Linked DNA regions of Homo sapiens: region 2 is linked to region 1. The links are contacts of gene promoters, found by promoter capture Hi-C in blood cells and fetal thymus (Javierre and others, 2016). All regions are on one chromosome and are shown on one strand. Each heading gives the region's core, a stretch centred on a gene start or on the middle of the fragment in contact. The rest is flanking DNA. Distances are from core to core; before and after follow the strand shown.

Evidence for each region. Contacts are between HindIII fragments. The CHiCAGO score rates a contact against its expected background, and 5 or more counts as called.
Region 2: a fragment that was not itself captured here is called in contact with the fragment with the promoter of GNRH2 in region 1 in 2 of 17 cell types (naive CD4 T cells and naive CD8 T cells); the score reaches 6.7 in naive CD4 T cells.

What each region holds. Positions count from the first base shown.
Region 1 is chr20:3,040,736-3,048,291 of GRCh38, reverse strand. GNRH2 (gonadotropin releasing hormone 2) reads right to left here and starts at 4,670. Exons shown (of 4, transcript NM_178331.2): 1 at 4,627-4,670; 2 at 3,724-3,884; 3 at 3,456-3,592; 4 at 2,545-2,606. The coding sequence starts at 3,877. The coding sequence ends at 2,556. It overlaps MRPS26 (mitochondrial ribosomal protein S26), which reads right to left and starts at 2,240. Exons shown (of 4, transcript NM_030811.4): 1 at 2,012-2,240; 2 at 1,773-1,919; 3 at 1,555-1,678; 4 at 42-557. The coding sequence starts at 2,223. The coding sequence ends at 423. RefSeq lists enhancers at 1,299-1,358, 2,699-2,758 and a silencer at 1,729-2,598. The HindIII fragment of the contact is 14,485 bases long and covers 1-5,980 here.
Region 2 is chr20:3,302,332-3,309,887 of GRCh38, reverse strand. DNAAF9 (dynein axonemal assembly factor 9) reads left to right here. Exons shown (of 37, transcript NM_001009984.3): 21 at 5,345-5,448. Among named protein-coding and RNA genes, the nearest start is that of SLC4A11, 67 kb to the right of the region's middle. The HindIII fragment of the contact is 910 bases long and covers 3,347-4,256 here.

The DNA.
Region 1 (7,556 bases), core at 3,421-5,920:
TTTGCCACTGTAGTAAAAAGAAGTCAATGAGTGGGTGTGGCTGTGTTCCAACAAAACTTTATTTACAAAAACAGGAAGCAGGCACGTTTGGCCCTCAGACTGTAATCTTCCCATCACTACTCTTAATGATACTCAGATGACCTGGCTGCCTGAGGGGGCTGTGGCCCTGTCTGATTCTCTGTGAGATGGAAACCACTCTAGGGTCTCCTGGTGCGCTGAGGCTGTACACACCGGCAGAACAGGGCACTGCGTTTGGAAGTTTCTGACCAAGTGGTGACAGCAGAGGGCAAAACGTGAAGGCTGTGCTGGATAAGGCTGAACCTTCCTCATAAGCAACACCAACTGCTTTATTCCAGGTCAGGGCCAACTCTTCCGCCATGATACATACATGGTCCCTGGCGGGCACTGTCCTTACTGGGCCCCTAGGAGTCCCTGCGTTGTGGCCTGACCACCAGCCCCTCTCTGGTGATGGCCCAGTTGTAGTTCTTCCGGGAGTCCAATGCTGCTTCCACCCGTGCCTCCAGGTTCTCTCGGGTGATGAAGTTTTTCACCTCTTCCTATCGGGAGAGAAAAGCCCAGCTGAACAGGAGCCTTGGGCACATGCCAGCCAGCCCACCCAGCCTGCTGGCCTCTCACCCCACTGAGAAAGCAGCTCCTGCTCTCCCTGGGGAAGCATGCCTGGAACCCAGGTCCTATTTGAGAGCCCCTCTGGCCTCCCAGTGGAGTGATATCAGGTTGCTTTTCCACGTTCCTCTTTTCTCAGACACTTCAGCCATAGCCCCGAGTGCCAGCTATGAAAATCTCACGTCCTGGTAGGTGAAATCCGTCCCTCAGTGGTCCCCTCTGAATCACTCTAACTCATCCTTCCCCCCATTACTTTATTTATTTATTTATTTATTTATTTTGAGACGGAGTCTCACTGTCGCCCAGGATGGAGTGCAGTGGCGCCATCTCGGCTCACTGCAACCTCTGCCTCCTGGGTTCAAGCGATTCTCATGCCTCAGCCTCCCGAGTAGCTGCGATTACTGGCGCACACCACGCCCGGCTAATTTTTGTATTTTTAGGAGAGACGGGGCTTGGCCAGGCTGGACTCGAACTCCCGACCTCAAGTGATACGCCCGCTTCGGCCTCCCATAGTACTGGGATTACAGGCGTGAACCACCGCTCCCAGCCACCCTTCTATACTTTAAATCAAGCCTCATCCATTCTCACTGCATTACTCCTAAGTGGTCTCCCTGCTTTTAAGTCGCACACCTGCTAATCCTAGCCTGAAATACTTAACCCTTCATGGCTTCATCACCTGTTATGCAAAATACAACCTCTTTGTGGAACGCAGGGTCCCTCCCACAGACCTGCTAGGTACCTGAACACTGTCCAATTACTCCGCTCACCTCCGGGTCTTTGCGCCTGACTGGCACTCTCCTCTCCAAATCCGGACCTGCCAACTGTAAGTCTCTGCACATAGCCAGCGCCCGCGTCGCGGTGCCCAGAATTCCCAGTGCCCCGCAAGCCGCGTCCCCGGCTGGAGTCCCACCCTCCGGAGACGTTGCCCACCTGCAGCTGCAGCACTTCCCGCTCCTTGCGCTGCGCCCAGGCCTGCACCTCTTCGGCCTTGCGGGCCTGCTCCAACGCCTGCCGCTGCTCCTGCTCCCGCTCCTCCTGCCGCAGCCTCGCTATCCTGTGAGGGTCAAAGGGCCGAGGCTGAGCGGGGCCCGGGCTTCTCCCAGGCCGGCCAGGCCGCGCCGCCCCGCCCCGCCTCCCGCCCCACGCACCGCAGCTCGTGCAGCCGCCGGTTCTCCGCCTGGTTCCAGGCCATCAGCTCGCGGTGCTCGGCGGCGTCCTTCAGGGCCTTGCGCTCCGCCAGAACCCCGGCTCGGGCCTCGTGCACCTTCCTCTGCACCTCGGACACGAACTCCATCCTGGGTGCAGACGCGCCAGGAATCAGCACCCTCTCCGCCCACTCCCACCGTCACCAGCGCGCGCGGGCGGCCACCTCCCCCCGGCCGCACACCTGAGGGCGCGCACGGTCTGGCGGTAGTGCTGGTAACGCTCCATCAGCACGAAGAACTCCGCAGGGTCCACCGCGGGCGGCATGTTCACTCGCTCGATCTTGGATTTGGCCAGCGGGTCGTGGCGGGTCTTGCGGCCGCGCGCTGGCAGCACCAGAGGGGCCCGGGGCCTGCACGGGGTCCCCGCGCCCAGGCGGCTCAGCGCGCGTAGCATGGCCGAGTCTCCTCACTGCGGCCGCGGTGCCGGGACGCCACCGTGCCCCGGAAGCGGCGCGGGGAACCTTGGGACCTGTAGTCCTCGGGCTGTCCCTCACGCCCCGCCCGGCCGTGTGGCCTCTGGAACCGAAGCGGCGACCCTGCGGACGTCCGCATCCCGCCCCCAGGCTCTGGCCCGGCCTTCCCGCCAGGGCCCGGGGCCATCCCTTAGTTACTCCCGCCCGCGGGGCCGGACCCGCGTCCCTCCAGCCCCCACGCAGGGAAGGGTCTCAGCGGGGAAGACAGGGAGGGGACGAAGGACAGAACTCGACGCAACAGCTTCGGAGAACCTCACACTTTATTGGAGGATGGCGGGGCGGGGCGGGGCTCTCGGGCTGCGGTCTGCGGAGGGAGAGGTGGCGGTCATGTCTCAGGACACTGGTCTCGTAACCGCCGAGCTGCCATCTTCCTGGTTCTCTCCCCTCTCGTCCCCCCCAGTCCCCATGTGGCCTCCCACAGCAGGACGCCCCCCGCCTCCCGTAGAAGCCTGAGGATCCAGCTAGTGTGGGGATCTCCAGCTCCCTTGGGCATGCCCTCTTGTCCACCCTAAACAAGCCTGACGCATAGAAACCTCAGCACATACACACAAATCAGGCGGTAAGACATTGCCTCATAGGAACTAACCACTTTCTTCTTTAGTTACCGGGCTCTCCTGATGCACTGTAAATGTTTGATTTGCAAAACAGTAGCAAACCATTTCCCCACGCCTGTCTTCTGCTATGGTCTTGGGGAGCTCTGCAGTCCCTGAGATGTTCCTAGTGCACATGTCAGTCACCACCTGGTCCTCTTGGCCCTGTTGTCTGTTTGAGTGAGGTTGCATCCCTCACCTCTTTCCACTGGCCTGGGGTCTGTCCACCTCAAGACAGTCATTGGCTTGTCAGGATGCCTGTGGGATCCCATGGCCACCACTGTCTTATAGAACAATTATCTCCTTCTAGTCTACTAGTGACTTTGGTCTTTAACCCAAGTGCTTTGTAAATTGTCTAGAATCCTCCTGGGAAATAGGAAGGATAGCAGACAGCACCCTGCTGTGTGCAGTAGGGGCACTGAGAAATGGCTGGGGGTGCTGTGGCAGGGGGCATCTCAGTGGTGTTTCATTCTCCCCACCCTCCCAGCACCCAACCCTAAGCCACAATGGCCTCTGATGACCAGTGGCTGGTCTTGATGCTGGGGACCTCTCACCCTACTCACCAGCAGTGTCCGTGCCAGGTGTCGCTTCCTGTGAAGGGACCACTGGGCCGTGGTCCTGCCCTCCCAGGGCATGCTGTCGTCCAGGGGAGCCAGGGCATCACTTGGGAGGCCATGGGCAGTCTGGACTGGGCTGCCTGCTGCAGTGTCCAGGGCCCTTCCTTAGAAGGGAACTGATGCTGTCCTCCCTACCCCGACCTCAGGCTCCAGGAGGGTGGGGGAGCCCCCGGCCATCACTTTCTTCCTCCCCATGAGGCTGGGAGACACCCACCTGGGGGCCTAAGGGCATTCTGGGGATCCTGGGCTGAGCTGAGGGCTCGCTTTCCTCCAGGGTACCAGCCATGGGACCAGTGCTGAGCCTCTGAGGGTCCAAGGTGGGCAGTCAGCAGCAGCAGGAGCAGGAGGCCTCGCCTGGAGCTGGCCATGGCTGCTCTAATGGACAGGGTACAGCATTCAAGGAGACTTACCTCACCCCCACATCCCCCTACTTCCTCCAGGGCCACTTTGGAAAACTGGCATCTCAGGGGCAGCTTTGGTATCTCCTTATGCCCTTCCCTCTCTGCCACCGCTCCTCATCCCAAGCATACAGGGGTCCAGATCCTGGGGGATCCTGGCCCAGCAGGGGATGATGCTCCAGGGGACGAGCCTTCTCCCTGAGCCTGGGGCACAGAGGCTACCTGCCTTGCCAGCTCTGAGGGCCCTCCCACTTGTCCAGGTCCATCCATCTTTCCTTCAAGGAGTTTCCAGAAGTGGAAGAAAGTTGGAGGGGAACAGAGACCTGAATTCAGGCCAATGGATGGGAGGATAGATGGATGGTCAGGGGAGTTCTCAATGTAGGCGTGTTTGGAGCACCAGTGCTAGGGAACCAGAGTTGCAGGCCTTCTGCCCTTTTCTCCGTGGCCTGCTGTATCTCTTCCATAGTAGTTGGGGATGTGGAATGGATGAGTGGTATTGATGGGGGCAAGTGCTTCTACCCCTTATCCCTCCCATGCCAGGGGCAACAAGCACAAGAATAGATGGTAGAGCTGTTGGGGAGAGGAGAGGAAAAGGGGACTTCTCTGGCATGGTTCAGGGGTGGAGGCACCTGGGAATGGGGAAGAGGAGCAGCACACCATACGCCCAGGATGAAACTTGGTCCAGGTGTCCTAGCCCTTAGGGAAGGCTCCCCACTCACCAAGGAAGAGCTGTGGATGAGATGGCTCCTTCAGGCAGCTGCAGGACCCTAGCCTGATGGCCCCAGGATTTATAGACCAGGCAGCTCCACCCCCAGACTCCAGTGACGTCTTCAGAGGGGAAGAGAGAAGCTCACCACCCAACCCGCTTCCCAGAGCATCCAGTCCATGAACATTCACCAGGCAGCTGCTGCCCTGAGGCCACCGACACATGCTCCCTCCCCACCACCTTCCCAGGAGCCTTCAGGCCCAGGACTCTTGCTTTAGGCTGGCCTATGTCCTGGTCTCACCTTCCCACTTCCCAGGCTGCATCTTCAAGCTCCTGATCTTGAGACCTAGAAAGCCCTCACAGCCTTCCCTGATCCCAAAAGAGAATTGTGTCCTGGGCAGGGGCAATGCCTGGGGGCTCCCCAACTCCCAGCTCAGGGCTTTCCCTGGTGGACAGTGGAAGCCTAAGAGTAGGGAGCCTGGCAGGCTGTTCAGAGGTACAGGGGAGGCTGTGACCACTCTCCCAGAGGGCTTCCGTTTGCTCACTGTAGAGTGGGTTGGGTGGGACAATTCACATCCACACACCTGGGAACCAGGGCTGGGTCACTCCAGATGGCTGGGTTTGGGTGGGGCAGTACCTACCCCGGAGTGGCTTCTCTCCTGGCGAAGAAGCGGGCCCATGAGATGGGGCCCAGCTGTTGGGCCAGTGCAGTCTCCCTAGGTAGGTAGAATAATTTTGTCCCTCAAGGCTCTAACCCCTCCCCAGTCATGGATTTGGACACAGCTAGCCTGGGCTGCTGGAAGTGGGCTCTTGCTTCCCAGTCTGCGTCAGCAGCTCAGCTTTCCTTGGCCAGCCATCAGCCTCTGGGGGTCAGAGGCCTGTTTACAGGGTTCATAGCCAATCTCCGCACTTGGGCTGAACAGCAAATGGGAGGGCCAGGGTCATTTGGAGAGCTGGTGCGTCAAATCCTGTGACAAAGATGGGGGAGGGGAGGCATAATGGGCATCAGTCAGCCCTAGACACCTGGACTTCAGCAGCCAAGGCAGGATGGGCACACCTGTGAACTTCCAGACTGACTTATTAGCAGGGACCGGAAATCAACGTGTGGCCCATTTGTTCAGTTAAATTGTTTTGGCTTAAATATGCGGACTTTGTTAACTGGGTGATTTTTAGGGAAACATTTGCTTGTGGTTTAGTGAAAATGAATCTGAGTTCGACGTACTAGTTTAGTTCTGGTTGGGGTTTACAGAATGCTTTCTTCAAAGATGCACCAAGGCTGGTGTACCTTTAAAAGGGGGATGGTTGCCTTTATTTATTCTGTAATTTGATTCCGGCTTTTCCTGAAAAATCTAAACCAGAGCCAAGCTTCCTGGGGAAAGCTCTGCTCCCTTTTTTTTCCGGCAACATACTTAGCTTTTAAGAAATGTTTGGTCCTTTCCAGACTAGAACTGTGGAACTCTTGTATCCCTCTCATTAGAACATAGAAAGCCATCTGTTCACCACGGAGCTCCAGTCCTCAGGATATGAAGTCACTGCAGCCAGGAGCTGCGTGTACTCAGGTGGGAAAGCAGAGGTTCAGAGGTGAATAAACACTCAGGTGCTGCAGGAGCACAGAGAGGCACAAACCCTGAGCAGGCGGCCTGGGTGAAGGACAGAGACGAGTGAGCTGGAGTCACGGACGCAGGGAGTGGCAGCAGAGGGGTGCAGCATAAGGAACAAAATGGAGAAGGGCCAGCAGGAACTGCCGTGGATCCATGGGGCCAGAGTATGTGGGAAGGTTAGAGGAAAGGAGGGCGGGCCCCTGGGTGTGGGCAGTGGGAGGCAGGCATCTCTGGACCACCCTGACATGCGACCAGGATGCGGGGGACTTGGGATTGGAGGAGAGCTGAGGGTCCACAGAGACAGATCCAGAATCCTGACCTCTGAGAGAGGAGACAGTGGAGGAGCAGCTAAAGGGTGAGGATAAGAGGCAGAGGACAGCCTGTGACACAAAGGGGAAGAGACCATGGGTCCCTGGTGTTTAGCACCAAGGTGACCTTGGTGCGCAGGGATGGAAAAGAAATGTGTGGGAATGAAGTGAGGAAGGGGGAAGAGTGAGAACACAGGTTTCTGCAAGTAGTCTCTCATAGAGGGAAGAACTTAGGCCTGGGGTGGGAGACATGCTCTTTATTTAATTAATTAATTAATTCTTTTTCTTTTTCTTTTTTTTTTTTTGAGATGGAGTCTCGCTGTCATCCAGGCTGGAGTGCAGTGGCGTGATCTCAGCTCACTGCAGTTTCTGCCTCCCAGGTTCCAGCAATTCTCTTGCCTCAGCCTCCCCGGTAGCTGGGATTACAGGCACGTGCCACCACGCCCGGCTAATTTTTGTATTTTTAGTAGAGATGGTTTCACCATGTTGGCCAGGCTGGTCTCGAACTCCTGACCTCAGGTGATCCGTCCGCCTTGGCCTCCCAAAGTGCTGGGATTATAGGCATTAGCCACTGTGCCCGGCCTATTTTTTTTTTTTTTTGAGACAGGGTCTCACTCTTTGACCCAGGCTGGAGTGCAGTGGCATGATCACAGCTCACTGTAGCCTCCACCTCATGGGCTCAGGTGATCCTTCCACCTCAGCCTCCCAAGTAGCTGGGACTACAGGCGTGTGCCTCCATGCCCAGATGATTTTTGTTATTTTTTGTAGAGACAGGATCTTGTCATGTTGCCCAGGTTGGTCTCGAATCCTGGGCTCAAGTGATCCACCCGCCTTGGCCTCCCAAAGTGTGGGATTACAGGTGTGAGCCACTGCACCTGGCCTGCTCTTTATTTTTAATGAGAGAGACTTGAGTATTTGGGACAGGGGAGCAATGAAGGAAACTGCAACCCAGGAGGGACCCGCCCAAATGAAGTGAGGTCTCAGTGTGGCAGGATGTAGGGCTTTGGGTGTGTGGTGGGTGCAGGCTGTTACTC
Region 2 (7,556 bases), core at 2,552-5,051, 260 kb before region 1:
CTAATTCTTTGTCAATTCAGTATATTGCAAATATTTTCTTTCACCTGGTGGCTTGTCTTTTTATTTTATTTCTGATGCTTTTTCATGAATAAAAGTTCTTAGTTTTAATGTAATCAGGATAATTAATCATTTCCTATGTGATTCATATATTTTAGATCTATTGAGACTTTTCTGTTGAATTATAAAAATATAATTTTTCAAAGAATCCACCTGGATTGCTCTGTGAAAGTGATATGAGATAGAAGTCTAAGTTCATTTTTTAAATGTAGGTAGCCACCTGTCTCAGCAAAGTTATTGAAAAATCATTGTTTTCCCACTGATCGGCAGTGCCAGCTTTGTTATAAATCAAGTCTCTTTATGTGTGCATCTATTAATAGGCTCTCTGTTCTGTTCCATTGGGAAAGAAAATAACACATTGTCTTATTTTAGATAGATAACATATTTCTATATGGTGACTTAGTCTGCTTGGGATGCCATAACAAAATACCACAGAGTGAGTGGATTAACAGTAGGAATTTATTTCTCACAGTCTGGAGGCTGAGAAAATTATAACACTATACTAAAAGGCATTAAAAATGACATAAACACACATCCCATTCATGGACTGGAAAACTCAGGTTTACTTACTTGACATGGTAAAAATGACAATTCTCTCCAAAGTGATCTTTAAATTTAACATAATTTCAGGAAAAAAAAAACCAACAAGTTTTTTGAAAATCCTGAAAAGCCAACATAAAAATGTCAATAACTTTGAGCAAAGTGCTAAGAACAGCCAAGATACTCCTGAAGAAGAAAAACAAGGTGGGAACTTGCCTTATCACATTAGAGACTGAATGTTTGTGTCCTCTCCAAAATTCCAGTGTTGAAGCCTTAACCCCAAAAGTGATGTTATCTGGAGATGGGGCTTTTGGAAGGAAATAGGGGTTAGATGAGGTCATGAATGTGGGACAAGGTCTGTTGGGATGTGGTGCCCTTATAAGAGCTACCAGAGAGCTTAGCCCCTACCATGTATGCATGGAGGAGGAGTCATGTGGGCATGTGGCACCACACCTGGCTAATTTTTTTTTTTTTTTAGTAGAGATGGAGTTTCACCATGTTGGCTAGGCTGGTCTCAAACTCCAGGCCTCACGTGAAGCTCCCACCTCAGTCTCCCAAAGTGCTGGGATTACAGGCGTGAGCCACTGTACCTGGCTGGAGGGAGCCACCGCACCTGGCTGGAGGGACACTTTAAAAATGAAGGTTTTGGTCTGGCACGGTGGCTCACACCTGTAATCCCAGCACTTTGGAAGGCCGAGGCGGGCAGGTCACCTGAGGTCAGGAGTTCGAGACTAGCCTGGCCAGCGTGGTGAAACCCCATCTCTACTAAAAATACAAAAATTAGCTGGACCGTGGTGGCGCATGCCTGTAATCCCAGCTACTTGGGAGGCTGAGGCACAAGAATCACTTGAACCTGGGAGGCGGAGATTGCAGTGAGCAGAGATGGCACCACTGCACTCCAGCCAAGGCAACAGAGTGAGACTCCATCTCAAAAAAAAAAAAAAAAAAAGTAAAGTTTTGTACAGCACTGAGCATGAAGGAACTGTATAGCTGCATATTACTTGTAACATAGGTCACATTCAGGAACAGAATGTCAGGAGAAGTAAGCAAGTCACAGAAGAATACATGATTAGGATTTCATTTATATAAAAACACAGACAAAACTAAGTAATACACAGTTTACAAATACATTCAAGTGTGGTAAAACCATCCAGAATTCAGGATGCTGTTCCCCCTGGGTGGAAGAGAAGGGCTCTCATTGAGGAAGGACATCCAGGGGGTTTCAACGGTGCTAGTAATGCTCAATTTCTTAGGCCCAGTGGTGAGTTCATAGACATCTGGGTTTTGTAGTTGTTGCTTTAGTTTTTTTTTTTTTTTTTTTTTAAACCTTGTGTGTACATTTCACACACATTTATAGACACAGGATGAAAATCATCTAGCCATTGCATCATAAATTTCCCCAGCAGTGATAAATGTTCCCTCCTCACATAGACTGGGCTGTTGGAAGATTTTTATTTGTACAGCCAGTTTTCTGAAAGAGGAAAGCGAAATTCTTCTTTGGCATTTGCTTGGTATTTTGGTTTACCCTGAGGGCCCATCCCTCTTTTGTTGGACTTCCAGGGATACAGAGCTCAATCAAAGACAACCAAACTGCAGTCCTCCTGGTTTTGGGACAATAATGGGAAACTTCCTCTTATCCTGGGTTTTCAGACTTACAGAATGGAGAAGGAAGGACAGAGTTCATCCACTAAGGACACCAAGGATGGCACAAAGAGTCAGGGAGATCTCCTCAGGAGTTGGCTGCCCTGGCCCCTGTGAACCCCTGCAAAGGTATGGCCCTCAGACCACTGTCTGACAGTCAAGAGTCCAGAGCAGATACCAGAAGGGTTATTGCTTCAAGCAGATGAGGATCTGAGACCAGAGCACAGGCACTGGGCCACCCAGTAAGTCACTTCACTTATCTCATGTGTGCTCTGAGAATAATGGCAGAGTTACTGCTCATAGAGCCAGGCTAAGGGGCAGCTGCGATCACAGGACAGATCACAGGACAGTACTGAAATCAGATCCTGTTTACTGAGACCTTGCCTTGGCTCATGCCCCATAATGAGCTCTTCCAGCACTGTCTTGTGAATTTGTCTTCCTCTTTTCCATTTTGTTTTGAGGCTTCAGAGTCTAGTGGGAGAGGAAATGCTGGAGATGACCTCGCTCATCCTTTCCCATCTTCCTATTGAGTAAATGGAATGTGCCAGCTTCTCCAATCTGTGCTTTTTTCTGGAAGCTTCAGGATTTTGAGCTTTGTCCAGGAGGCCTTTCAAGTGGCACTGGACTTGTTTCTAAAAAGGTTCACTTCAAAAGTACAAATGTAGAGGGATACCCAGGACAGGGAAGGGTGCAGGTACTAACCACTCAGCAGCAGGAGCAGTTTCTACCTCGTGACACCTATGGAGCCCTCTTATCTCTGGAAACAGTAAGTAGAGTCATCTTGTGGCAGGAGTTGGTGGGGTTGTGGTTTTAGGAGAGTGTTGAAGGTCTGGGATGAGCTCTGTGGGCTGATGGAAGGAGTGGGGAGACAGCAGTGAACAGGCTACGGGGCAGCACTGTGGCCTGTTGTGGTTGAGGGAGCAGAGAAGGCACATCTACAGATTCACCACAGCTGGGCTTTGGACAGGGGAGAATTGAAAGAAAAAAAACATGAGAGAACTGAAGGCACCAGCATGGTATAGTGTCTTTGGCATCAGACAAACCTGTGTTCTGTACCTGGCTCCACCACCAAGTAATGCTGTGATTTTGGGGGAAATCTCTCTAAGCTTGAGTTTTCTCATCTGTCCTATGAGAAAAAATAATACCACCTGTTACAATTGTGAAAACAGAAAACTATAATGTATGACATGTGTGGTGCTTAGTAAATACTGCGTGAAACCTGTTCCCATTCCTTTCTTTTAACAGAACAAAGATTAAAGGTTAAGTCCTGTCCCAGAGGATCTGCCCTTGATGTGGATGAGAAGAATATCAGAAATTTCTGAGCAATAGGGGAAAATGCGAATACCAATGACTGTGAAGGCTCAGTGACATCAGAGGATGGGGTGTGGGGAGGGAAACAGCTAAAAGGGGGATGGGGTGCTGGAGTCAGAGAGTAGTTGCTGGGCTGGAGATTTCAGAAGTCATGACATTCTGGGTGCAGCTTTACTGCTCTAAGAAGGAATGGGAGTGTTGGCATTGGAAGGGAAGACTGAGCACATTCAGAGTGATTTGAAATATGGCATGGTCAGGAGGGCAGTAGGTGTGAGCAGTAGAGGGAGGGGCTTGTGTCTCTAGGGGAATGAAAGTAACATGCTGTGGTGTTGGGGAGACTGGCCTGGGAGCAGCATGGAGGAACTTTAGGGTTGGTACAGGATGAGGCTGGGGCATGATTAGCCTCCTTTTCAGAGGGCCTCAGGAAAAGGCAGTGTGCACAGAAAGCCAGGCTACTTGTTGGAGGGTAGAGGTTTCCAGAGCTTGAACCTAGATAGTCGCTGGCTGTGGCTGCCACAGATGGTAAGGTTGGCATGTCCCTCTGACGGGGCATCTGGTTCTTCCATGAGAGGCAGGTGCCAGTTCTTCTTCTTGTACCTAAAAACTGCCTCCTTCTCCCTTCACTTCTCCTGTCCCCTGTGAACACATACTAACTAGGCCCCTCCCTTCCTTCTGAAACCTCACCTCCTCAGGAAGCCCTCAAAGCTTGCAGTCTCCAGATTCCTCACCCAGGATGTGAAGGCAGCCCTCAGACTCCTGGCCTTTGCTATTCTTGTCATTCCAGCCTCCAGAGCTTTGCACTGCTTTTCTGGAGCTACAACTTAAGGAATCAATTTCACTTATTTATCTCTTGGCCTTTGCCTTGGCAGTGAGGTCTTAATGACAATAAACTCAAACCTGTGCCTTGAGCTTTAAGAACTACTTCATCTCCCTCTATATGCGGAAACATGGAAAGAAAAGCTGTTACAGGAATAGAAGATTCAGCTTGGACCAGCCCCAGAGAGCAGCTTCACCTAGGAGTCTTATGGGTGCTTTGGGTGCTGCTTTTGTGTCTCCAAAGCAAGCCCAGGCCCAGCATTAATCTTTGTCATCTTAGTTGTCCATCTTTTCCATGGTCTGCTCCCTAGGGCCTATACTGAGCTGCTCCATATGACCTTGACCATCCAGGAAACAACAGCTCTCCTTAGACCTGAATCCTTGTTCCGAGGAACCCACATCCATGTCCACCTGTCACCCATCTTGCTTTTGTGAACTACAGAAGAGCAGCCCCCCAGTGTCTGTAGAACTTACTCATTACCTAACTCAAATGTTCTGTTGCTGGGCACAGGGACCTTAAGCTCCCTTCACCAGTCTTCAGCTGAGACCCAAGTGCTCCTTCTCGGGCCCTAAGTGAGGGATGTGGTCTCTTTAGGGCCGAGCCAGCTTCTGGCAAAGCAGAAGAAAGGAAAATCTGTAAACTCAGTAATGGAGCAGATATACCCAAAGTCTTTTTTAGTGTGTTTCCGTGGAAGATACCCATAAGGTAATGTGAATTTTGCTTCTCCCCATTAGCTGATAGTTTATTCACTTGTTTTTCTAATTCTTATGCAAAGACTGCATCTGATGCCTCATTTCCCTCTGAGGCTTTGGGAGGTTACTTTGGCTTCCTCAGAGCACAGGGCTCAGCATACAAATCGCATAACGTAATTGCTACTGATACTGGCCTCTAGTTACCACACTGCTGTACAAGAGGACATTGGAATCTGACCCCCAGCACCCAGCCCTCCAGCTCTGACCAACTCTCTTTTCCTTCCAGGGAATGTTCATTTCTTCTCTAGTGGCCTTCTGTTTTCTCACTGTCGTCATAGAAGTATCATCATTTCCAAGGATCACATGAATTCCATTTCCTTCTATGATGGGGTAGGTGTTTTACTAGTCAGTGGCTTTTTTGGTCGGAAAGTTGCTCACACTTTTGAGGGGAAAACTAAATAACTCCTTTCTCCCCTCCACTACCACAGGGCAGTATGTCAGGAACCAGCACAGCCACTGAGGCAGGCAGGGAGGGAGGTCGTGGAGAGGCCTGGGCATTCTCAAGACGCTTACGAGCCTCATCAACCTCACTGCTCTGTAAAGGGCTTACCTAGAAAGGGCTTCTGGTCAGAAGGGCCAGCAGCTCCCCATGCCCAATTCATTCACCCTAAAGAGGACTATAAAGCAGGCTGAGAAGGCCTCCAGTGGCCCCTCTTGGGTGGCCTCCAGGTCCAGGGGCTCAAGGCTCACCCACTGAAAAATCAGAAAGGAGCTGCATCCTGTGGTATTGATGAGGCTCAGCATACACATTAGCATGGACAGGATTGTAAGTGAGCCAGAGAGGGAGAGAAATGGCTCACTTTCCCCGTGAGAGTTTAGCCCCTCCTCCCTCACACACCCAGACTTCCTCTCCAGCTCCATAAAAGTTCCACTGTCCTATAACAATCCTCTAAGTTCACCAGTCTGCACCAACACTTCCCATTCACCTTAAGGGGAAGATGGTAGCTATGGGTTTCCCCTAGCCTTTACCCTGTGGCCAAGGCACAGCTCGTCTCAGTGCAACACCAGAGCAGAGGGCAGGCCCACCACTCTGCCTGGTCTCAGCCTCAAAACCAGTCTGTCTGGGAGCTAGGACAGAGACTATGTGAGGTATTTTGGTCAGATGGCTCAGAAAACGAATTCTGTGAGCAAGTTTTTCTTCCATATAGAGCCTGCAGCCTTAAAGGCTGTTCAGAAATGTAGGCAGACCAATTGGACACATTGGATGGCCCTATTAGATTAAAGTGTTGCTGTTAGATTAAAGAGTCTTCCAATATCAGGGAAGAAAGAATGCATCATGAAAAGCACAGTACTGGGATGATAAGTAGCTAATTTCGACAAAAAATAGACTCTTACCTCTACTAAAAATCAAAATGAACTTCTGAGGGATTAAAATTAAATATATTTAAATTTCACAAATAGAATATAAAAATGAATATTTATTAAACCTCTAGGGGTTAGAAGACTTCTGAAGCTTAGAAACAATACAAGAAATTCTAAAGGAAAAGTTTGTCAAATTTGACCAGTTACTGATTTTTTTTTTTTTTTTGAGACAGAGTCTCGCTCTGTTGCCCAGGCTGGAGTGCAGTGGTGCGATCTCGACTCACTGCAAGCTCTGCCTCCCTGGTTCACGCCATTCTCCCGCGTCAGCCTCCTGAGTAGCTGAGACTACAGGCGCCTGCCACCACGCCCGGCTAATTTTGTTTTTGTATTTTTAGTAGAGACGGGGTTTCACTATGTTAGCCAGGACAGTCTCGATCTCCTGACCTCGTGATCCACTCACCTCGGCCTCCCAAAGTGCTGGGATTACAGGCATGAGCCACCACACCCAGCTGACCAGTTACTGATTTTTAAAAATTTTATGCTGATAATTTAACTTATTAAAGTATACTGTAAATACAACTAACTGTATCCATTTAAAGGTTTGGCAGATGTGTACATTCATGAAACCACCTTTACTATCAAACCAAAATGTTTTCTCATGCCCTTTTTCATCTTTCCCTCCACTCCTGGGTTCAGACAACCACTGATTAGCTTTTGTCCCTATATATTAGTTTGCATTTTCTAGAATGTTATATAAATGAACATCATCTATTCTGTAACCTTTGAGTCTGACATTTTCCACTCAACATAGTGATTTTTAGATTCATCCATGTTGTGTATGTAAATAGCTGTGTTCTCTTTATTGCTAAGTAGTATTCCATTGTATGGGTATATCATAAAATTTGTCAGACTAATTAGTAATGCAAAAACCCTTTAAAAAGTATTTTAGGGGATGGGGAGGGGTAGATCGATGAATACAAAGTTAGAAAGGATGAGTAAATTCTAGTGTTCTGTTGCACAGTAGGGTGCCTGCAGTCAACAATAAGGTGTTCAGATCTCACAATAGCTAGAAGAGAAGATTCTGAATGATAAATGTTTGAGTTGATGGATTTCTCATTCATTACCCTGATGTAATC